Regions from separate parts of the Homo sapiens genome. Here all the other regions are linked to region 4. The links are contacts of gene promoters, found by promoter capture Hi-C in blood cells and fetal thymus (Javierre and others, 2016). All regions are on one chromosome and are shown on one strand. The core of a region is centred on a gene start or on the middle of the fragment in contact, and the rest is flanking DNA. Distances in the headings are between cores, read along the strand shown. Region 1 overlaps MTHFD2L (methylenetetrahydrofolate dehydrogenase (NADP+ dependent) 2 like). Region 2 has its middle 6.6 kb from the start of MTHFD2L. Region 3 overlaps MTHFD2L (methylenetetrahydrofolate dehydrogenase (NADP+ dependent) 2 like). Region 4 holds the start of RASSF6 (Ras association domain family member 6). Region 5 overlaps LOC105377277 (a long non-coding RNA gene).

The links. The method cuts DNA at HindIII sites, captures the fragments that hold promoters and counts their contacts. A CHiCAGO score of 5 or more calls a contact.
Region 1: a contact is called between a fragment that was not itself captured here and the fragment with the promoter of RASSF6 in region 4, in 1 of 17 cell types (neutrophils). The highest score is 8.3, in neutrophils.
Region 2: a fragment that was not itself captured here is called in contact with the fragment with the promoter of RASSF6 in region 4 in 3 of 17 cell types (neutrophils, fetal thymus and M1 macrophages); the score reaches 8.5 in neutrophils.
Region 3: a fragment that was not itself captured here is called in contact with the fragment with the promoter of RASSF6 in region 4 in 1 of 17 cell types (neutrophils); the score reaches 8.8 in neutrophils.
Region 5: a fragment that was not itself captured here is called in contact with the fragment with the promoter of RASSF6 in region 4 in 7 of 17 cell types (fetal thymus, monocytes, neutrophils and 4 more); the score reaches 16.7 in fetal thymus.

What each region holds. Positions count from the first base shown.
Region 1 is chr4:74,193,505-74,197,938 of GRCh38, forward strand. All of the region lies in intron 3 of MTHFD2L (methylenetetrahydrofolate dehydrogenase (NADP+ dependent) 2 like), which reads left to right. Among named protein-coding and RNA genes, the nearest start is that of MTHFD2L, 38 kb to the left of the region's middle. The HindIII fragment of the contact is 4,148 bases long and covers 852-4,434 here.
Region 2 is chr4:74,149,114-74,153,919 of GRCh38, forward strand. It overlaps a transcript of MTHFD2L not described here. Among named protein-coding and RNA genes, the nearest start is that of MTHFD2L, 6.6 kb to the right of the region's middle. The HindIII fragment of the contact is 652 bases long and covers 3,189-3,840 here.
Region 3 is chr4:74,168,165-74,172,731 of GRCh38, forward strand. All of the region lies in intron 1 of MTHFD2L (methylenetetrahydrofolate dehydrogenase (NADP+ dependent) 2 like), which reads left to right. Among named protein-coding and RNA genes, the nearest start is that of MTHFD2L, 12 kb to the left of the region's middle. The HindIII fragment of the contact is 8,326 bases long and covers 1-4,567 here.
Region 4 is chr4:73,618,725-73,623,024 of GRCh38, forward strand. It overlaps RASSF6 (Ras association domain family member 6), which reads right to left and starts at 1,712. Exons shown (of 11, transcript NM_177532.5): 1 at 1,564-1,712. RefSeq lists enhancers at 1,186-1,735, 1,736-2,284. The HindIII fragment of the contact is 3,198 bases long and covers 1,377-4,300 here.
Region 5 is chr4:74,130,789-74,135,693 of GRCh38, forward strand. All of the region lies in intron 1 of LOC105377277 (a long non-coding RNA gene), which reads right to left. It also overlaps a transcript of MTHFD2L not described here. Among named protein-coding and RNA genes, the nearest start is that of MTHFD2L, 25 kb to the right of the region's middle. The HindIII fragment of the contact is 511 bases long and covers 2,096-2,606 here.

The DNA.
Region 1 (4,434 bases), core at 1,676-4,175, 580 kb after region 4:
TGACTCTATAAATCAGTTTGGGAATTGACATCTTACCATCATTGAGTCTTCCAATCTATGAACATGGTATGCCTTTTATTTATTTACGTCATTTGTCAGCAGTCTTTTGTAGTTCTTATTATAGATGTTATTCTCAAATTTTAAACAATTTACTCCTAAGCATTTTATGATTTGTCAGCTATTGTAAAGAGTATTTGTAAAATTTCATTTTTCTGATAGTTACTACTTGTATCAGGAATTCAATTGTTTTCTTATATTGACTTTGTAATCTTGCTTAATTCACTTTATTAGTTCTATTAATTGTTTTATAAATTTTTAAGCATGCTCTGCATAAACAACTATGCCATCTGTGATCAGAGAATTTTACTTATTCTATTCTGATCTCTATGCCTCTTTATTTTTTTGTTATCTTATTACACCCACTAGGCCTGCCAACAAAGCATTAACTAGAAATTGTGGGAGTGGACCTTATTCAGATCTTGAGGGAAAAGGTTCAGTATTTCACTATTAAGTAGGATGTTAATTGTAAAGTTTTTTATAAATGCCTGTATCAGATTGGGGACTTAAAGATTTGCTTCTCCTCTGGTGAACCACAGGTACAATCTCTGGTAAGTTATCTTATCCTTAGATGAGCTTCTTGGGGTTTGTTTCCTGTGTGTTTGTTCAGGGGTCATTCAGAGATACAGAATTTGTATACAATGTATGGGACTCCTTTCTGTGGCTTTCTCCTTTCCTGGATATATCGCTTCAATTTTCAACTACGGTGTTAGCCCCAAACTTCATCTTTTGATCTCTTAAGCAAGTAGGACTGAATATTTCTATCCAAATTCTAGCTGTCCTGTGGCTAGAAAAGCTTTTAAAGTGGAGAACTCTTTCAGTGATTTTTTTTTCTTTAAGCTATCTACTTTCCTCTACATCTGTTTGTTTTTAGTGACTTTCCATTTTTTTCAGATAGTTGTTTTTGTATTTTTTCAAATGATTTTACTGAAGTTTGCAGTTGTTTTCTGTAAGAAGTTTAGTCCAATATAAGCTACTTCACAATCACTAGAAACTGAACCTACATTTTTAAATAGTGTGGTCAGAATTGTCCTCACTGATGTTAATCAAGTTTAGCCTAAAGCTGCCTCCTTACATATTTAAGATTAGCCTAAAGGTTTTTCTGTATATTGTGAACTATAACAAGTAGAGGTGTAAACCAATCGTGGCCCACACCTGTGCCAATCACTGAGTTTTGGCCAATCAAGTGTAGCCAGCTGCTCGAACCATGTTCAAATAAGGCAAACACTGAGCTGTAACCAATCCAGTTGTTTCTGTACCTCACTTCTGATTTCTGTGTGTTGTGTCCCTTTTTTTGTCTACAAATCTTCTTCTACCACGTGGCTGTTCTGGAGTCTCTCTGAATCTGCTGTGATTCTGGGGGGCTGCCCAATTCGTTAATTGTTCATTGCTCAATTAAACATCTTTAAATTTAATTTGGCTGAAGTTTTTCTTTTAACAGTGAGAATGTGGTATTTAAGAAAACATTTGAAAGAAGGTAGGGATTTAGCCTAGGTGACAGTTCTTTTTTAGGAAAGCCTTCCAGGCAGATAGAAAGCTATAGCTAAGGTGGCAAAATGCCTCATGTTTTCAAGGAACATCAAGGGGACCAGCTTGATGCTCACAGATTGAGAGAAGACGAGAGTAACCAGTGATGGGATTAGACACATAGCTATGGTTTTGGTGCAGTAAAAATCATGTAGAGCCTTGTTTGCAATTTTTAAGGTAATAACATTGCAGGGTTTTGAGAAAAGCAATGTGATCAAATATGTACTTCAAAGGTATAACTCTATTGCTGTTTTGTGAATAAATTGTATGGTTGCACATATAGAAGAAGGAAACTAATTAGGAGGCTGTTTCAAGAATTGACAGGAAGAATAATGTTCACTCAAAGTAGAGTAGTATCATGAACATGGTGAGACTGATAAAGTGCTAGATATATTATTATGAAGAAAGTCAACAGATTTTCCAATGGTTTGGATGTTAGGTGTGAGAGAAAGAGGGATATTTAAGATGACTCCAGGTTTTCTTGGCAAGTAGCACAGAAGGATGGGTTTCCCATTATGAACCCTGAAAATCTGAGACAAATGTCAGTTTATTTTGCCAAGGTTGAAGACATGCACCCATTAGACAGCCTCAGAGTCCTGAAAACATGTGCCCAAGGTAGTTGGGCCACAGCTTGGTTTTATACATTTTAGGGAGTCGTGAGACATCAATCAACATATGTAAGAAGTACACTGGTTCCATCCAGAAAGGCGGGGACAACTTGAAGCAGGGGAGGAGTCTTCCAGGTCACAGGTAGGTGAGAGACAAATGGTTGTATTCTTTTGAGTTTCTGATAAGCCTTTCCAAAAGAGGCAATCAGAACATTCCTCTATCTCAGTGAGCAGAAGGATGACTTTGAATAGAATGGGAGGCAGATTTGCTCTGAGCAGTTCCCAGCTTGAATTTTCCCTTTAGCTTAGTGATTTTGGGGGCCCAAGATTTTTTTTTTCACACCATCAACTGAGATGGAGTAGTTATAAGTGAATCAGTTTAAGACAGACTGTGTCCTAAAAGGCTCACATTCATAAATGATAGAGATAATTAAACAACTAATATCATTAACTGAACTAGTGTGCTAAGTATTTTTTATAGCAGTTCCATGGGAAAGCAGAGGAAAAAAATATTGTTTCAATTTGTGATCATTTCAACAGGGGGCAATTGATCAATGCATTGAAGAATGAATAGGATGTGAAAAAAACTGAGAAGAAAGGATTAGTAGTGAAAAAAATCATCATGAGCAATAGCAATGCAGAAGTTAATGCTAAGGGCTTGGGGAAAGGACATGGTTTGGTGTGACTAGAGTGGAGGGCATGTGATGATGATGGTTGGTAAAGGTATGGAACACACAGAGAAGAGACTATAGGAAAAATAAGCTAAAGGACACAATGTTTACTATACGGATGAGCTTGCACTTATCCAACAGATGTGGGGGAAGTGGAAGGTGGCATTTTTAAACAGTAATGTTGTAAAAATCTATAGGTGGAAAATAAGCCAGTAATTTGTTTGTTCCTTTTTTTTTCTGTTCATTGTCCAAAGACAATTAAGCATATTATAAATACATCGCAAAAATATGTATTCAGTGGCCAGGCTCAGTGGCTCATGCCTGTAATCCCAGCACTTTGGGAGGCCGAGGTGGTGGATCACGAGGTCAGGAGTTTGAGACCAGCCTGGCCAATATGGTGAAACCCCATCTGTACTAAAAATACAAAAATTAACCAGGCATGGTGGCACATGCCTATAGTCCCAGCTACTGGGGAGGCTGAGGCAGAAGAATCTACTGAACCCAGGAGGCGGAGGTTGCAGTGACCTGAGATCATACCACTGCACTCCAGCCTGGGGAACAGAATGAGACTCTGTCTCAAAAAAAAAAAAAAAAAACCCATACAAAACATATATTCATTCAATATAGTAAATCTACAGTGTCCTAAAGGCATTATCTGAGCTGTTTTATTACAGTGGTTCAGATTTTGATTTGATGACTTCTGTTTTTCCTAGCATGATTTAATGACTTCTCATAACTTTAAATAGAAGGGGGGAAAACACAAAGTGAATAAAACCAGTTTTATCATTCATTTGGGTAAGATATTAAATGGTTGGTTGTTTACCAATGTATCCTGTGAATCAAACATGTTGTATAACTGCTGTGAGAAAATTGATGCTATTAAGTCTCACGATTGTTTTTTCTGTTCAAGTTATGTGCCCCAAGGGTGAGATTTTGGGAGACTTTTAGTAGCAGTCAGTCACAAACAGGAAATGTATTTATTTCTCTTACTCATATAACAAAAGGAAGTAGGATTACCTGTAATCCTAAATGTAAAATGTTTGATGCTTTTTTGCATGTGCTTAGACAAGTATTACTTAATCTAGGAATAGTGTTATATTTGGAGCCCTAGGAGAAACAATACATTTCTTGGGATATTTTAGAGTTATCAAATGTCTTATTAGGAGTTGGGAGGGAGGCCTCTGTGATTTTAATTTTTAATGGTATTTAAAATGATTAATATTTATTATGACTTCTGTATGATACAAAAGGAAAAACTGATCTTAGAACAAAAAGATATGGATTTAAATTCTGGATTCTTAGTAGTGATTTGAGATTGACTCTAACTCCTTGAACTTGTCTTTAAAATGGGCATGATCATACCTTTCCTACTTTTATCCCCAGTAACTATGAAGATTAAAAGGAAATTGATGTAAAGGTAATATAATCATTGTAAAGCACTTTTTAAATGTAGATAGAGTAGTTCACATTATTGCTATATACTGTATACTACATAGTAATAGGTAGATCTCTCCTGGAAAAAGATATATGTTAGATTTAATACACTGCTGAGATAGCAGAGTTACATAAAA
Region 2 (4,806 bases), core at 2,265-4,764, 530 kb after region 4:
CTCTCATTAGATAGTTTTATCTTCTCAATTCTGATAGTGCCACTTGCTCCATCCAGTTGTCTCTCCAGATTTAGCAGTTTCAGTGGTTTCCTGCTGTTGGGTTATTTTGTATCCTTTTTGGCTTCTAAGTTCTTCCATTATCTACTTAATTAAATCCCTATATTAAATTTCCTTTATTTGAAATACCTACAGTGTTTTCTGTTTCCTCCTAGATTCTGCCTAATACAAACTCAGACATCTGTTAATAGGCTGCTGAAAAACTAAATGCCCCTATTTAATAATATTTAGCAGAAAAAAATGAATGAATTATAGCTACATGCAACAAAATAAATATGTTTTGGAAACACGGAGTAAAAGGGAAAAAGCAAGTGCTTGAAGACTGCATCCAGCTCAATATCATATGTTAAACTCAAATAACAAAACAAAAACCAAGGAAGACTGAGCATTATGTTGTTAAAAGATGTATTTGTGATTAAATTATTTTTAAATCAAAACGATTAAACTACAAAATTCAAGACAATGATTACCTCTGATAAAAAATTTGGGATATGAAAGAAGCACCTAGATTTATTCATTGATATCAGAAAGGTTCTAATTCCCACGTTGTGTGGTAGGTTCAGGAATATTCTTCTTGTTGTTATGCTTCATAATTTGCAAGGGTGTTATGTGTTGTGGTAGGTAGAAGAGTGCTCCCCCCAAAAAATGTTTATATCCTAGGTTTCAAAACTTGTGAATATATCACCTTACATGGCAAATGGTACTATTACAGATGTGATTATGGTTTGTAACTTTGAGATATGGATATTATCTTGAATTAACCTAGTGGGCTCAATCAAATCATGAGGCCTTTAGAATAGAGACCCTCCCCTGGCTGTAGTAAGTAAAAGAGAGAGACAGAGAAAGAGAGAGAAATAATGGAAGAAGAGTAAGAGAGGGATTTCGACATTCTTGGCTTTGAAGATGGGGGAAGGGTGCCAACAAGCCAAAGAAAGTGGGTAGGTTGTCTACAGAACACGCAAAAAGGAAGGAGATGGATTCTCCTTAGAGCCTCCAGAAGGAATACAACCCTAATTGACTATAGCCCTGTGAGACTCACACCAGACTTCTATCTTAAAGAAATGTAACACCATAAGTTTTTGTTGTTGTTGTTTGTTTTTGAGACAGAGTTTTGCTCTTTTTGCCCAGGCTGGAGTGCAATGGTGCGATCTCAGCTCACTGCAACTTCCACTTCCCAGGTTCAAGCGATTCTCCTGCCTTAGCCTCCTGAGTAGCTGGGATTACAGGCATGCGCCACCATGCCCAGCTAATTTTGTATTTTTTAGTAGAGACGGTGTTTCTCTATGTTGGTCAGGCTGGTCTCAAACTGCCGACCTCGGGTGATCCGCCCGCCTAGGCTTCCCAAAGTCCTGGGATTACAGGCGTAAGCCACCGTGCCTGGCCAAGTTTGTATTATTTAAACCACTAAATTTGTGATAATTTATTATAGCAGCAATCAAAAGCCAATGCATATATATTATTTGCATATTATTTTCTGCTCCAAACATTATCCCATAACTTAAAAAAATTAACATATGTTGTTTTAAATGACACACATCAAAACAAAGTGAAACAAAATTTAAATGTAAAAAGATACAGGTATACATGTGTATATGTATACGTGTGTGTGTGTATATATATATAAATATATACATGTGACACTTTTCATATTAAAACTAAACAAGGATAGGAGTAGCAATGTCTAACAATTACCATGGAAAACAAGAAGGCTTAACAAAATAAAGAAGGCCATTATATAATGATAATAGATAAACTATATGGAATCTGTAATAATCATTATCCCATATTCACTGATGAAATAATGCTATAATATGTAGTAAAAAATAAAGAAAAATTGGGTTCTTTACATCATTCTTAGTCTTTAAAAAGTTGAACAGAGGAATTAGAAAAAAGACAATCATTGTAACATTGGTTATATATTGACATGTATATAGATATATACAGTATATATAGTTAACATTATATTCTAAACCAGGTGCACTTTTTATACAGTTAATGGTATTATAAGACCACAAATAAACTATCAATAAGTTATTAAAATATGAAACTGGTAGTCACATTAATTATCATGAAATAAAACTTGGTAATCAATTTTTCAATAGAATCCACCATTCATTGGAAAATTAAAAATTATTTTCTCCTTATTACACAGATTCAAATCAAAAATCAATTTTATAGTTACAGAAGATTGTATAAATGACTAAAATGCAGACATTGGGATGAGTTCTCTGTACCTTAGCGATGTAGCATGCAAACTTTTCCAGGAGAACCTTAGATTTAGAAAAGCACTGCAGTTAGAAGTGTGGGCACTGGTTTCACACTACCTGAGACTTGAACTCCACTTTCATCACTTGATAGCTGTAGGTCTTGGCAAGTTATCTAGCCTATTTTACCTGTTTCCTCATAGCTTCATTGTGGTAAGGGTTAAAAGAATAACTTCTGAAAAGTGTTCAGCACAGCCTTGGCACATAGCAAATTCAGGGAAACATATGCTGTTATTATTATATTAAATCTTCCCCCATTTGACTAAAAAACTGAGATATTTTATTGGGTATTGGATTAATAGATTATTTTAGTGAAAGTCGACATATTTACAATATTAAGCATCTTGGTCTTTCTATTAATTCAAGTCTTTGCATACATTACTCATCACAGTCTTAATGTTTCCTTCATAGGTTTTCCAAATTTTTATTGGAATGTCCCTACAGGTTCATTGTTAGGAATGCTATTAGCTGTTGATCTGAAATATTTTTATATCTAGTTTATTAAATGTTATTAGGAAAGGTTATTGAATTTTATCAAATACTCTTTCTCTTATTTTCCATATTTATGTGATATATGAACTGACACACTTCCAATATTATCCTAATTAACCCATCTTTGTATTATCGTTTAGTTGTGGTAAAGTTTTTCCTTTTATAATACCATCAAATTATATCAACAATGTTTTCTTTCATATCCTAATAATTACATTTATCAGTTATATTGTTCAATAGTTTTCTTTTTTTGTATTCTTTTAAATTGGGTTTGAATATAATAAAAATACCTGGGAAATTCCTTCTCTATGATTTGGAAAGATTTTTAGTATGACTTATCATATTTTGAGGGCATAAAAAAACTCTGCTTTAGGAAGCTTTATAGTTGTATTTGATTAGTAGCTTCTTTTCCATTTCTGTCTGTTTTGGTTTTCTACTTCATGAATCAATTTTAATAATTTATATAAATATCAGGTTTTTAAAACACATATGCTGTAAAGTTGTTTATATTTTTATTGAGAATTCCCTTACAGAAAATATGATTTGGAAGAGCTCATGGAAAATTTTCTTTGACAGACAAGCACAATACTTTTTTTTTTACTTTAAGTTCTGGGATACATGTGCAGAACATGCAGGTTTGTTATATAGGTATACATACACCATGGTAGTTTGCTGCACCTATCAACCCATCATCTAGATTTTAAGTCCTGCATGCATTAGGTATTTATCCTAATGCTCTCCCTTCCCTTGTCTCCACCCCCTGACAGGCCCCAGTGTGTGATGTTCCCCTCCCTGTATCCATGTGTTCTGATCGTTCAACTCGCGCTTATGCATGAGAACATGCAGTGTTTGGTTTTCTGTTCCTGAAGTACAAACTTCTTTAAGAGCAGCTAGTGACAAGCAGGATACATCAATCTCTTAGTTTAATTTAAAACAAAAACAAAAAGAAAACACTCTGGGACAGAAAATATAATGATCTTAAAATATCCTAGGGAACTTGCCTCTTCTAGCTGATGCTGCCAAGCTAAGCTTCTTCAGCTCATTAGCTTCTGCTTCATCTCAGGCAGTAGCTACCCATGTTGTTTATTGCTTTGGCTCCACTCCTGGTTTTCTGGATCCTTGTTTATTCCTTGGCTGTGATTTTCCCTTGACATCTCAGTTTCTTAGTAAGCTTATCTTATGAATGGGCTTCTTTGCTATTCTCTGGAGTAAGCTATGCATCTGTCTGTCATTATGCAGTACCAACTCTGGTTGCCTCACAGCAACCTACTCCAACTTTGGTGGCTTTTGATGCCAGTGCTAACTGTTCACATTCTGATAATCATTTTGAAACATTTTGTTACAACAATGAATGCTATATAGTGAAAAGATAACTGACGATATAAATGGAGCCTATTAAATAAGATGCCCCAAGCAATGTCATGGACACTACAAATAATTACATGGACGCATATATCTCTGTGGCATAAAAATGTATTGTACTCTTTAAAGCAACTTCCAAAATTTTCATTGGAACACTTAAAATAATCATGGGAGAAAGTTTTTATTCCACATTAGCAACTAGCTTTCTTTCTCTGTAATTTTTAATCATCCCTGATTTAACTCAAAGGAATTCAATATTTGTTGAGTAGGTATTAGAAGCACATTGAGGATTAAAACAGGGAAAATATATCAGCTTTACCTTTTTCAGTTCAGGAGGAAATATTAATAAATAAATTAATAACTACAAATAGAGCAATAAATAAAACTTGGATAAAGTCCACCTTTAAAGATTCTCTTCTGGTATTGATTCTAATATATACCTACCCTGGCTAGATAGACATTTTAAAAAATAGACTTTATTTTATAGAACAGTTTTAAATTTACGGAAAAATTCAGAAAATAGTACTGAGTTTCCCATATGTCACACATCTAGTTTTTCCGATTATTAACATCTTACATTATATGATAAAATGAATCTATATTGATACATTACTATTAACAAAAGTTTATA
Region 3 (4,567 bases), core at 1,254-3,753, 550 kb after region 4:
GTCTCACAGTAAAAGCCAACATCCTTTCAAAGGCCTGCAGGGCCTTATATAATCTGATGTCCCATTCCTTCTCTGACTTCATGTCTTACCCTAGTTCACTTGTTCTTTCCACTGCAACCATTGGCCTCTTGCTATTCCTCAAAGATTTCAGGTATGCTCCTTGCTAAAGGCCTCCATACTTGTTCTTCCCTTCCCTTGGCCTAGAATGCTTTTCTTCCAGAAATCTACATGACTCATTTCATTCATTTCTGCCCACGTGTCACCTGATTTATCAGAGAAGTGATATCTTAACCCACCTATGTAAAATAACTCTGGCCCTCAGATAAGTCCTTTCTCTGCCTCATGTTACACATATTAAATACTTGTTGTTTTTCAATTTGCTTATATCTTCTTCAACTAGAATATAGTTTCCATAAAAGTAGGTAATTGTTTTGTGCCCTATTATTTATATTCCCAGTGCCCAAAATAGTTTTCAGCACATAGGAGACTTTCAATATATATTTGTTAAGTGAATAAACAATGAGCATGTGGTGGGGAGTTTTAACCAGGGAGGTGCTGTAATTAAATTAGAAAACAATCACTCTGGCTGCAGTATGGAAAATGGATTAGAGGAGATCAAGACAAGCCGGAGAGAAATTTTAGGAGATGTATTATTCAGGGGCTGAACATTTGAATTGTTGCTGATGTTTAACCTTTTTAGCTTTTCAAGAATTTTCATGTTGAAAAATCTAATTTGTTTATGCACTAAAGTAATGAGAATGTGTGAGTTGACTAGTTCTTCCAGCACATGGACCAATACAGGCACTCTCTCATTGGACCTGCATTAATTTGAGGTTGCTTCATTTTGCCTCTTACAGTGACTCCTACAGAGCTAGGCTTGCTGAGTCTCTACGGTGACTGATGGAGTCAGTTGGAGGGGCCAGTTGCTACTGAAAATGCTCAGAGACCTAACTCCTAATTTACCCATAAACACCAGCTAGCCAGGCTGTATCATGTCTGCTGTAATTAGTTAGCGAGCTGACTTAGCACCTCAGTGCTATAATTTAAAGTAAACCCTGAACAGTCTTAGACTTGAGTATGCACGGTACAGTTAAGTTTAATCTGTATACAGGTTGTCTCTTTGGAGTCTGGGAATCAGTTTATGCTATTGGTCTTCTCTGACAATCTCCAGGTCACGCAGATTTGTACTGTCTAGGACATAATTAGCCTAGATTATACTCAGTGATTGCCAGCTTCACAGTGGCCTGTGAACAAATTATTTTGTTTAATGTGAGTGAATCAATAATGTGTCAGCAGTAGCATCACTACTCACATGCTATAAAATGCAAGACAGAGTTCAGATGTTTTTATATTTTAAAATAGAATGTATATTCCTTACTGTGTTAGGTGATTACTAGTTTTTTTAACAGATGAATCTGCTTCTATAATAGTGTTCTACCCCAAGAAAATATTGCTGACACAAATTGATTTATGGAAAGTTTTATTTGCTACTACCTATAAATGAGTTGTGCTGGAATTTGTTGCTGTATCTGCAGTTCTTAGTATTTGCTAATATAAAAGATCCTTGTTATCTTAGTGCCAAAAGGCTACTTAAATGAATTCATAAAATATCCTTACCAGAAATTCATAGGAAACAGTGAAAAAAGTTTGTTACTTTACTTTGAAAAATAAAAACCTCAAAAGTTTTATTTTATTTTAACTTGATTTGCTTATAATTACATACAAAGTATTGGAAGGTACAAAGCACAAGCTACAAAAATCACTCAAGAAATATTAGATAACCTGAATTGCCCTCTATATTAAGGAATTTAAGTTTGTAGGTTTAAACCTTCCCAGAAAGAAAACCCCAGAATCAGATAGCTTCATGGGTGAATCCTACCAAACATTTAAGCGAGAAAAAAATGCCAATTCTTTACACACTCTTCCGGAAATTTGAAGAGGATAGAATTCTTCCTAACTCATTCTATGAAGCTAGCATCATCCTGGTATCAAAGCTACATGATAACATTATAAGAAAAGAAAACTACAAACACCTCTTATGCATGTAGATGCAACAATTTTAACAAAATTTCAGATGAAATCCATGATAGTCTGGAAAGGATAGATACATAATAACCAACTGGGATGTATCCCAGGAATGCAAGTTTGATTTAACATTTGAAAATTGATCAGTTACCATATTAACAGACTAACACTCGAGAAAAACATATGATCATCTCAATAGACATAAAAAACACTTGGCAGTAGCCTCATACAAATTCTCACCAAACTAAAAATAGACATAAATCATAAACTGAATGTATAACTTAGGCCCATAAAACATCTAGAAGAAAACGCTGGAGAAAACCTTTGTGACCTTGAATTAGGCAAAGATTTCTTTTATACAACACTAAAAGCATGGTCCATAAAAGGAAAAAATAATAAATTGGAGTACATTAAAATTAAGAACTGTTCTAAAAACATGAGAATAAAAAGGCAAAGCACAGACTGGGAGACAATATTTCAAACCCCATATCTGATAAAGGACATGAATCTAGGATACACAAAGAACTTTAAAAAAACCCAAATGTCCAACAACGAAAGACTGGATTAAGAAAATGTAGCACATATACACCATGGGCTACTATGCAGCCATAAAAAATGATGAGTTCATGTCCTTTGTAGGGACATGGATGAAACTGGAAACCATCATTCTCAGCAAACTATCGCAAGGACAAAAAACCAAACACTGCATGTTCTCACTCATAGGTGGGAATTGAACAATAAGAACACATGCACACAGGAAGGGGAACATCACACTTCGGGGACTGTTGTGGGGTGGGGGGAGGGGGGAGGGATAGCATTAGGAGATATACCTAATGCTAAATGACAAGTTAATGGGTGGAGCACACCAACATGGCACATGTATACATATGTAATAAACCTGCACATTGTGCACATGTACCCTAAAACTTAAAGTATAATAATAATAAAATTAAAAAAATTCAAAATAGGAAACAACCTACTAAACAATGGGCAAAAGACTTAATTATTTAATTCACTAAAGAAGATCACAGATGGCAAATAAGCATATGAAAAGATGTTCAACATCAGTATTCGTTAAGGGAATGCAAATTTAAAGCACAGTGACATACCACCATATGTCCACTAAAATGTCAACAGTTTTAAAACCTGACCATCTGAAGTGATGACAAGTATATGGAGCAACCAGAACTCATATAGTGTTTGAAGGAATGCAAAGTTGCAAAGTGGTACAGTGTTTTTGTAACGTAACAGTTTTTAACGTATTTAAACATACACTTACGATGTGACCTAGCCATTCCCCTTTGAGATATTTGCTCAAAAGAAATTAAAGCGGCCAGGAGTGGTGGCTCACACCTGTAGTCCCAGCATTTTGGGAGGCCAAGAGGGGCAGATCACTTGCAGCCAGGAGTTCGAGACCAGCCTGGCCAACATAGCGAAACCCCGTCTCTACTAAATATACAAAAATTAGTCAGGCATGGTGGCATATGTCTGTAATTCCAGCTACTCTGGAGGCTGAGGCATCAGAATCATTTGAACCCAGGAGGCGGAGGTTGTAGTGAGCCGAGATCTTGCCACTGAACTGCAGCCTGGGTGATGGAGACCCTGTCCCCCACAAAAAAAATATTTTAAAGCATATGTGTACAAAATATATTAAAGCATATGTGTTATAAAATGTTTGTAACAGCTGTATTTGTCATGATCAAAAACTGGAAAGAACCCGAATATCCATTAATTACAATCGAATGGATAAACAAATATTGGTATATCCATACAATGTAATACTACTCAGCAATAAAAAAGAAATGAACCATTCAAACATGCAACTATGTGAATCAATTAAAAAATAATTATGCTGAGTGGAAATAGCTGGCCAAAAAAGAGTATGTAGTATTTGATTCAATTTTTATAAAATTATTCATAATACAAACCAATATATACTGAACAAAAGAGGTCAATGGTTGCCTGGAATGGTGAATTGAGGAGTGGAATCTGGCAGAGACAGGTGGAATGGCAAAATTTTAAAGGTGCACCTGGAAAGTTTTGGGAATGATAGACATGTTCATTTTCTTGACTATAGTGATGGTTTCTCAGGTATATACATATATTAAAACTTAAACTTGTACATGTTAAATATGTCCAGTTTATTATATGACAATTATACTGAATAAATCTTTTACAGAAATAAGACAGCAGAACAAGATTATTATATTGAATTCATCATGACATTTCATGTCTTGAAAGCTATTAAAATTTTAATGAAGAGTAGACAAAATTAGAATCAAAAGTAGAGTTTACTTAGAATGTCTAGTTGTGATTGTATTGTCTAACCAATTTGCTCAGTTATTTACTCATAAATTATGATTGTTATTAAAATACACTTTTATGGTAAACTAAAGTGGTTTTCAAACATGGTCATACACAAGAATCACATGTAGGAAATTATTAGACATGCAGATTTCCAGGTTTTTCCCCTGCCCCCAGGAATTCTGAATTGTAGATGTGGATTGTGGGGTCTGGGAATCTGCAATTTCAGGCAGTTTTT
Region 4 (4,300 bases), core at 462-2,961:
ATTTCAACTCTGCAATTTGAAAAAAGAATCCATTAAAACACCAATGATATTAAGTTAGAGTATACTGCAAACTCTTTGACTGCTTTATTTAATAAAATAACAAGATAAAAATGAAGTCAATGGAAATTACTAGTCATAGACACTAAGTTGGTCCCCTCAAGAAAATTAGCAACATTAATAACTAACAACATTGACAAAAGTGCCCTTTAAGTGAAACTTCATAAAATAAAGCCACTTTCCTGTAATTTAAGCTTAAGAGGTAGAGACTGACAAAATACAAGTATTATTCCTTCATGTCTCTTGTCCATCAACACAAATTAAAAACAGCACTTCAATACAAACAATTCAATATGTGCTGAAATATAAAGACATGGATTATATGGTCTAAATTGATGAAAGTTATTCAAAAGCAGTCTCCTTTATAAAACCCAAATGGCATGAATTCCACAATATGAGATTGTGTGTAACTCTCTTACTCTAAAATTCTATTTTCTTTTTAGGAATAACAGATTAATGTAAATGTGAATTTTTCAAAAGAAAACTGATTGAGTAGCAAATATGTCTGAATTTGCCACCACATACTCTATCTGAAAAATGGAAAGAAGCCAGGTCATTTCGTTGCTACCCAGAGAGATGATCCTAGCACACCTGTCACCTGCTTGCCTGTCCTGGATCCAGTCTCCGGGAACCAGTTCAATTCCAGCATCCTAATACACACTGTCTGGTCTCCCTAGTTCAGCTTGCCCTCCCTGATAACGGCCCCTTTGGCAGAGCAGCTTATTCTTAATGCTAACAGTAGGTATCACTTACAGAACACTTGCTGACTGTTCAGTTCCCATCAAAGAAAGCCTTATGTGGCAGATCCTTTGATGATGCTTGTTTTACAGACAAACGTTTGGGGCTTAGGTTAAGAAACTTGAGAGGGGGCAAACTAATAAGTGGCAAAGCCGAGCTTTGAACCTACCACTCTTCTGCTTCAGAATTCATATCCTTAACTCATGCACTCCCATTTAATTATTTATGTTTATTATTTCATTGTTTGGTGAGCGCTTATATTGAAAATTCATTTTTTTTTTGGTGGGGGGCATGCTTTCTGTCACTTTGCAGAAACAAATAAAAGTTGAGCTGAACCCTCAATTAAGTTCTTTCCAGTGCGATGATTCAACACAATATTCTAACCATAAGGATACTCAGAGGAAGGAGTATGCCATCCAGAAGTCTAGTATCTTTGTAAGGCACGATTTTTGCCAGGCACAATTACAGGTGAAGGGCTCATTGAACTAAAGGGAGGAGGGGTCCTATGGTCACATTTACCTCCAAGCCCTTCTCTGCACCCTTTCCCTCCCTTCTTTCCCCTCTCTCCCTCCCACCCTACAAGCTTACCTTGGTTAGGAAAGCATATTCTGAGAAAATCAAAAGGAAAAGGCATGTGTGCGATTCAGGCTGCTATGACACACACACACTTAACTTTGTTGCCTATGGATTCTGCTTTCTAATAACTTGCCCTCAACATGACCCCAGGGAGTGGATTAGAAAGTTTTTTTCCCCATCCCCATTTTTTACCTGTTATTCACACTGTGAGCAGGAGGACCCTTTTCACCATCGTTGTTCGGCTGAACTTGCTTCGCGGTTTGTTCTCGGCTGGGTCAGGAACTCTGGTAGAGGGAAACCAGTGCCCTGTCTCTGCCGGGCTGGGACTCCGCGAGTCACTCACCTGTAGGGGAGGTCCGAGGCCCGCGCGGGCGCAGGGGCGGCGCCTGTCTCCTCCCAGAGCATGGCTCAGCTGGGCGCTTGCAGTGCCCCCGACGCGATCAGCGATCCTGGAGCCCCAGGAGCTGTTAATTATTTCTCCTTTTCGCCACAGCAGGGAAGTGTCAAGAAACCTGAGCCACTCCCTGTGCCTCAGTGCATGTTGGGAGTGTTTACTTTCTTAGGAACAGCTGATAGGTACACTCCTTTGCTCTCTGCCACACTTCTTGAGAAATGAATGGACATTCTAGTTAACGCTTTAACCACGGGATTTGACTGATGTTAATCTCTATTCTCTAGTCCACCCAGACTGTAGGTAATTGGCCTGTGAGAAATGACACCAACCAAGACTGAACGCCATTATTCACGTCTTTCTTTTTAAGATTTTTCTTTTCCAATTTGAGATTTGTTAACTTTCTTTTCCTTGTTATTTTGCTAACACATTTCCCTGCTAGCACTTTTTTTCACCCAGAGCAGCGTTTCGCGCTTCAGGGTGCACCAGGACCACCTATGTATTCTGCTAAACCCAGGTACCATCAACTGTGAGACTCTGATTTAGTAGGCCATGCATACACTTCGGGTATTTATATTTTTTATAAGCTCCACAGAAGAAACTGGTAGACATCAAAGTTTGAAAATGAACATAATGAAACAAAACAGAGGAGATAAATAATAATTTAGTCATTATCTACTGAATTGGATTTGGGGGCTTTGTTTTATCCAATATCTCCAATTTCAAAAGGACACCAAAAAGGCTTAGAAACTGTTAAATGACAGATGCTGTGGAAATATGAAGTACATTTACACACACACACACACACACACACACACAGATTTTTAAGGATCATTGTTATTTTACTGGTTTCCTATGTAAAGCAACTATTCATAATTTTTAAACATAATAGGTTATTTTACAAGTGTAAACCTGAGAGCCCTCAAAAGAAATTCAATCTGATTCCTGCAAAAAGTTCAGCAGGCAGAGTTAATTTCTAGTATCTTTCGTGTTCAAACGCCAGACAAACAGAATGACTCTAGATGTTCAGGTTGCATGTTTGTCATAGCACTTTAAGTAAGATCCTATATGTTCAAAAGGTGAGGCAGGCCAGGTGCAGTGACTCACGCCTGTAATCTCAGCACTTTGGGAGACCAAGGCTGGTGGATCACTTGAGCCCAGGAGTTCAAGACCAGCCTGGACAACATGGCAAAACCCTGTCTCTGCAAAAAAAAAAAAAAAAATTAGCCCGGCATTGTGGGGCATGCCTATAGTCCCAGCTACTCGGGAGGCTGAGGTGGGAGGATCACTTGAGCCTGGGAAGTCGAGGCTGCAGAGAGCCAAGATTGCACCACTGCACTCCAGCCTGATTCAAAAAAAAAAAAGAAAAAATATTAGGCAGTTTATCTATTTAATCTGTGGTGTGCGGAGACCAGGAACTATCAGATTTATCATTATTTGAGCAAATGGTTTTATTGGATCACAATCAAAGATTTTACAATCTTATGTAAGGACAGATGTGACTTAGTATTACTTGCAGATATTAATTCGATCATCATGTTGGCTCCATAACTCTCTGGTATGTGGCTGCTGGTATGGACTGACCTTTGAATGATGACTAGCAGGACCTAGAGTAGTTACAGCTCTCGGTTCCAGGATATCTTGCTCAAATCCATGCTCCACCTCCATTGTCTGTGCTTGAAGTGGGTCATTTGCTTATTGTCAGCATCAGGGCAACATTCTTTTGCATCTTTTACCTGCAAGCATTGGATTTGGGGGCTTTGTTTTTTGCCAATATCTCCAATTTCAAAAGGACTCCAAAAAGGCTTAGAAACTGTTAAATGGCAGATGCTGTGGAAACTTTTACTCTGATGACTGCTTTCCAACTGGTTTTCTAAAGAAAAGTAAAGTTAGAGGCTTAGTGACTTCGTTTTTTAGTGTTTTATCTGTTTGTAAATATGTAATTTTTATTTGATAATATAAAAAGTATATAATTGCACATATGCAATGTGGAAAATCTGAAAAACACAGAAATGTAGAGGACAAAAAGCACCTATAATTCCATCTCTCAAGTATAATCATCATAAACAATTTGTTGAATGTCTTTATTGACTTATTTTCCCTGTGGCTGTTTATCAAAATGCTATTACATTTGGTTTGTTGGTTTATAGCCTGCTTTCATCACATCAAACGTAGTATGAACAATTTACTATAAATCAGTCACTTTTTTTCCTGCAATGTAATTTTAACTAGCTGCTCTGTATTGCACCAAATGAAAATACCGTTACTTATTTAATTATTATGATAAAGTTATACTGTTATAAACAACACTGCAGTGAATGATTACATATGATTCCACACAAGCATGACTACACCTTTTAGATACATTTCAAAAATTGAAGTTACCAGATGTAAGGCAATGTGCATTTTGAAGAATTTCCCTGCTTAAAAAATCTTTGTCAGTTTTATACTCCCAGGGCAGCTAACATGGGTTATTATACTTCTTTTAAACATTTATTAATTTGAAACATAAAAAAATCCATATCTTATTTTAAATAT
Region 5 (4,905 bases), core at 1,101-3,600, 510 kb after region 4:
GTCAAATTGTCTCTATTTGCAAATGACATGATTATATATTCAGAAAACCCCATCATATCAGCCCAAAATCTCCTTAAGCTTTATCAGCAACTTCAGCAAAGTCTCAGGATACAAAATCAATGTGCGAAAATCACAAGCATTCCTATACACCAATAATAGACAAACAGAGAACTAAATCCTGAGTGAACTCCCATTCACAATTGCTACAAAAAGAATAAAATACCTAGGAATACAACTTACAAGGGATGTGAAGGACCCTTCAAGAAGAACTACAAACCGCTGCTCAAGGAAATGAGAGGACACAAACAAATGGAAAAACATTCTATGCTCATTGATAGGAAGAATCAATATTGTGAAAAAGGCCATACTGCCCAAAGTAATTTATAGATTCAATGCTATCCCATCAAGCTACCATTGACTTTCTTCACAGAATTAGAAAAAGCTACTTTAAATTTCATGTGGAAACAAAAAAGAGCCCATATAGCCCAGACAATCCTAAACAAACAGAAAAATGCTGCAAGCATCATGCTACCTGACTTCAAACTATATTACAAGTCCACAGTAATCAAAACAGCATGGTACTGGTAACAAAATAGATATACAGACCAATGGAACAGAACATAGGCCTCAGAAATAACACCACTCATCTACAACCATCTGATCTTTGACAAACGATAAAAATAAGCAATAGGGAAAGGATTCCTTATTTAATAAGTGGTGTTAGGAAAACTGGCTAGCCATATGCAGAAAACTGAAACTGGACCCCTTCCTCACACCTTAAACAAAAATTAACTCAAGATGGATTAAATACTTAAACATAAGGCCTAAAGCTATAAATGCCCAAGAAGAAAACCTAGGCAGTACCATTCAGGACACAGGCATGGGCAAAGTCTTCATGACTAAAACACCAAAAGCAATGGCAGCAAAAGCCAAAATTGACAAATGGGATCTAATTAACCTAAGGAGCTTCTGCACAGCAAAAGAAACTATCATCAGAGTGAACAGGCAACCTATAGAATGAGAGAAAAATTTTGCAATCTATCCATCTGACAAAGGGCTAATATCCAGGATCTACAAAGAACTTAAACAAATTTACAAGAAAAACAAACAAACATGCCCATCAAAAAGTGGGTGAAGGATGTGAACAGACACTTCTTAAAAGAAGACATTTATGCGGCCAAAAAAACATATATAAAAAGAAAGCTCATTATCACTGGTCATTAGAGAAATGCAAATCAAAACCACAATGAGATACCATCTCACACTAGTTAGAATGGCAATCATTAAAAAGTCAGGAAACAACAGATACTGAAGAGGAAGTGGAGAAATAGGGATGCTTTTATATTGTTGGTGGGAGAATAAATTAGTTCAGCCATTATGGAAGACAATGTAGCGATTCCTCAAGGATCTAGAACCAGAAATACCATTTGACCAGCAATCTCATTACTGGATATATACCCAAAGGATTATAAATCATTCTACTATAATCACACATGCACAGGTATGTTTCTTGCAGCACTATAGCAATAGCAAAGATGTCAAACCAACCCAAATACCCATCAATGATAGATTGGATAAAGAAAATGTGGCACATATACACCATGGAATACTATGCAGCCATAAAAAAGGATGAGTTCACATCCTTTGCAGAGACATGGGTGAAGCTAGAAACCATCATTCTCAGCAAACTAACACAAGAACAGAAAACCAAACACCACATGTTCTCACTCATAAGTGGGAGTTGAACAATGAGAACACATGGACACAGGGAGGGGAACATCACACACCAGGGCCTGTCAGAGGGTGGGGCGCTAAGGGAGGGACACCATTAGGAGAAGTACCTAATGTAGATGACGGGTTGATGGGTGCAGCAAACCACCATAGCACATGTATACCTATGTAACAAACCTGCACATTCTGCACATGTATCTCAGAACTTAAAGTATAATAATAATGAAAAAAATGCTCTACACTTTAACTCCACACCTCCCACAAACACTTTGAATTTTTATTATATCAGTTCGCATATTTTAAAAATATCTATTTTGAACAGGTTGTTGTCGCTATTATTGTTTTTGATAGATTTGTCTTTATAAGCTTCTTACTAGAGTTATGATTGGATTGCACACCACAATTAAATTATTAGCATATTCTGGGGTTGTGTTCATACTTAATTTTACCAGTGGGTTTTATACCTTGAAATATTTTCTTTTAGTTAGTACACTAATATGTTAGCATTTTTTAATTTCAGGTTGAAGAATTCCCTTTAGCATTTCTTGCAAGACGGGTCTAGTAGTGGTGAATTCTCTTAGCTTTTGTCTGTGAAAGACAATTTCTCTTTGTTAATGCTGCCCTATTTCCTTCTGGCCTACATGGTTTCCATTGTGAAGTCTGTTGCCAGATGAACTGGAGTTGCTTTGTTATTTTACTCTTTTGCTGCTTTCTGGATCTTCTCTTTGTCTTTGATATTTGAAAGTTCAATTATTATATGCCTTGGTTAGTGTTACTTGGGTTGAATCTGTTTGGTGTTCCCTGACCTTTCTATATCTAGATATTTCTGTCTTTCATGAGTTTTGGAAAGTGCTCTGTTATTATTTCTTAGGATAAGCTTTTCTCCCCTTGCTCTTGCTCAGCTCCCCCTTAAACACCAATAATTTTTAGATTTGGTCTTTTGAGGTAATTTTCTATATTTTAAAGGTGGCCTTCATTTCTTTTTATTGTTTTTTTCTTTTCTTTCTTTGGACTGTATTTTCTTAATAGCCAGTCTTTGAGCTCACTGATTCTTTTCTCTAACCCATTCTGTTATTGAGATCCTCTAAAGAGTGTTTCAATTCAGCAAATGTGGTTCTCCGTTCCAAGATTTCTGTTTCATTTTTAAATTATTATTTCAATTTTCTTGTTAAATTTCTCTGATAAGTATCTGAATTGTTTTTCTATGTTATCTTGTAGGTCACTGAGTTTCCTTAAAATTGCTATTTTGAATTCTTAGTTATAAAGTTCACATATCGGTTTTCTAATCCCAAAATGGCAGCATAGAAGCAAGCTTGCTTCTCTCCCCTCCACCAGAAACCAAAAAGAAATACACAGCAGCAAGATCTTCACCAGCAGCAACCCAGAGATCCTGTATGAGGATGAGACAGTTCCTGTAGGTACAGAGAAGTGGAAACATTCTGAGCAGATGGTAGGAGAACCAGATTCTACATCCATGAGGCCTCTTCCCTGCATTACACCAGGCATCAGCAGTATGAAAAATCTGCCCTCAACTCATGGTTTCTGCACTGAAAAACGTGAAATTGAGATTGTCAACCAGCTTTCCCATCTTCTTCGGTTTCCTGCCAGGAGACCTGCCTTTGCCTTAAACCACAGGTAGCACTGTGACTGCCTGGAGGGAGAAATGTCTGTGAAGGCTGGCAAAGACAAATAGGGAAGCCAGGACTACCATCCTCAGCCGTAAAAACTCCTTGTAACTTGACCAAAGGAGATGCCAAATCAGTAGAAATCATGTAGCAAGTATGTTCCACAAGTCCCCTGGGAACACACCCGTGGCCGGCCTTCCCACAGTGCTAGGGTAATCCCTTTGGTCCTCCTCCTTATGGGACAGGCAGTGCCATGGCCATTTGCAAAAGTCAAGGTAAACATAGGCTTATGGCGCCATCTAGAGCCGAAAACAAGGCAGCAAGCTGGCAGTTAAGATTCATAAGCAACTGTATTCAATAAAAACCAAACCAAACTAGACAGATAAAGCTGGACTAAATAATTATTAATACAAATACATAGATGTATACCCACAAGAAACAACAGCAAACATGGAACCATAACCTTCTAGACAAAGCAAAGTTCCAGCGACTGACCCTCCTGAGATGGCGATTTGTGAACTCTCTGACCAAGAATTCAAAACAGCTGTTTTAAGGAAACTTTGTTATCTCTAAGATAACACAGAAAAGCAACTCAGATATTTATCAGAGAAATTTAACAAGGAAATTGAAATAATGATAAGCAGAAATCTTGTAACTAAGAACTACATTTGCTGAACTAAGAAACTCTTCAGGGGATCTCAACCACAGAATAGGTCAAGCAGAGAAGAGAATCAATGAGCTCAAAGACTGGCTGTTAAAAAATAAACAGAGGAGAGAAAAGAAAAAAAGAATGAAAATGAGAGAAGGCCACTTACAAGATATAGAAAATTACCTCAAAGACAAAATCTAAAAATTATTGATGTTCAAGAGAGAGCAGAGCAGGAGCAAGGGTAGAAAGCTTATTCAAAGAAATAATAAGAGAATACTTTCCAAAACATGAGAAAGATATAAATATTCAGGTACAGGAAGGCCTTAGAGCATCACATTAGTCAAATAAGACTAATGAAGGTATTTACTAATCAAACTGTCAAAGATCAAGCATAAAGATAAAACTGTAATGGCAGCAAGAGAAAAGAAGCAAGCAGCATATAAAGGAGCTCCAAATCATCTTTAGCCAGAATAAGAAAAAAAGAGAGAAGACCCAAATAAATAAAAGTAGGAACAAAAATGGACACATGACAACTGAGACCTCAGAAATACTAAGAATCATTAGAAACAATTAGGAACCATTACATGCCAACAAATTGGAAAATATAGAAGAAATGGATAAATTCCTGGACACATGCAACCTACCAATATTGAACCATCAACAAATAGAAAACCTCAATAAGCCAATAATGAGTTATGAAATCAAAGCCATAATAAAAAGTCTCCCATCAAAGAAAAGCTCACGGCCTGATAACTTCACTGCTAAGTTCTACCAAACATTTAAAGAACTAATACCAATTCTATTCAAATACTTCAAAACGATTAAAGAGGAGAGAGGGAATACTTTCAAACTCATTCTACAAGGCCAGTGTTACTGTGATACCAAAACCAGACAAGGACA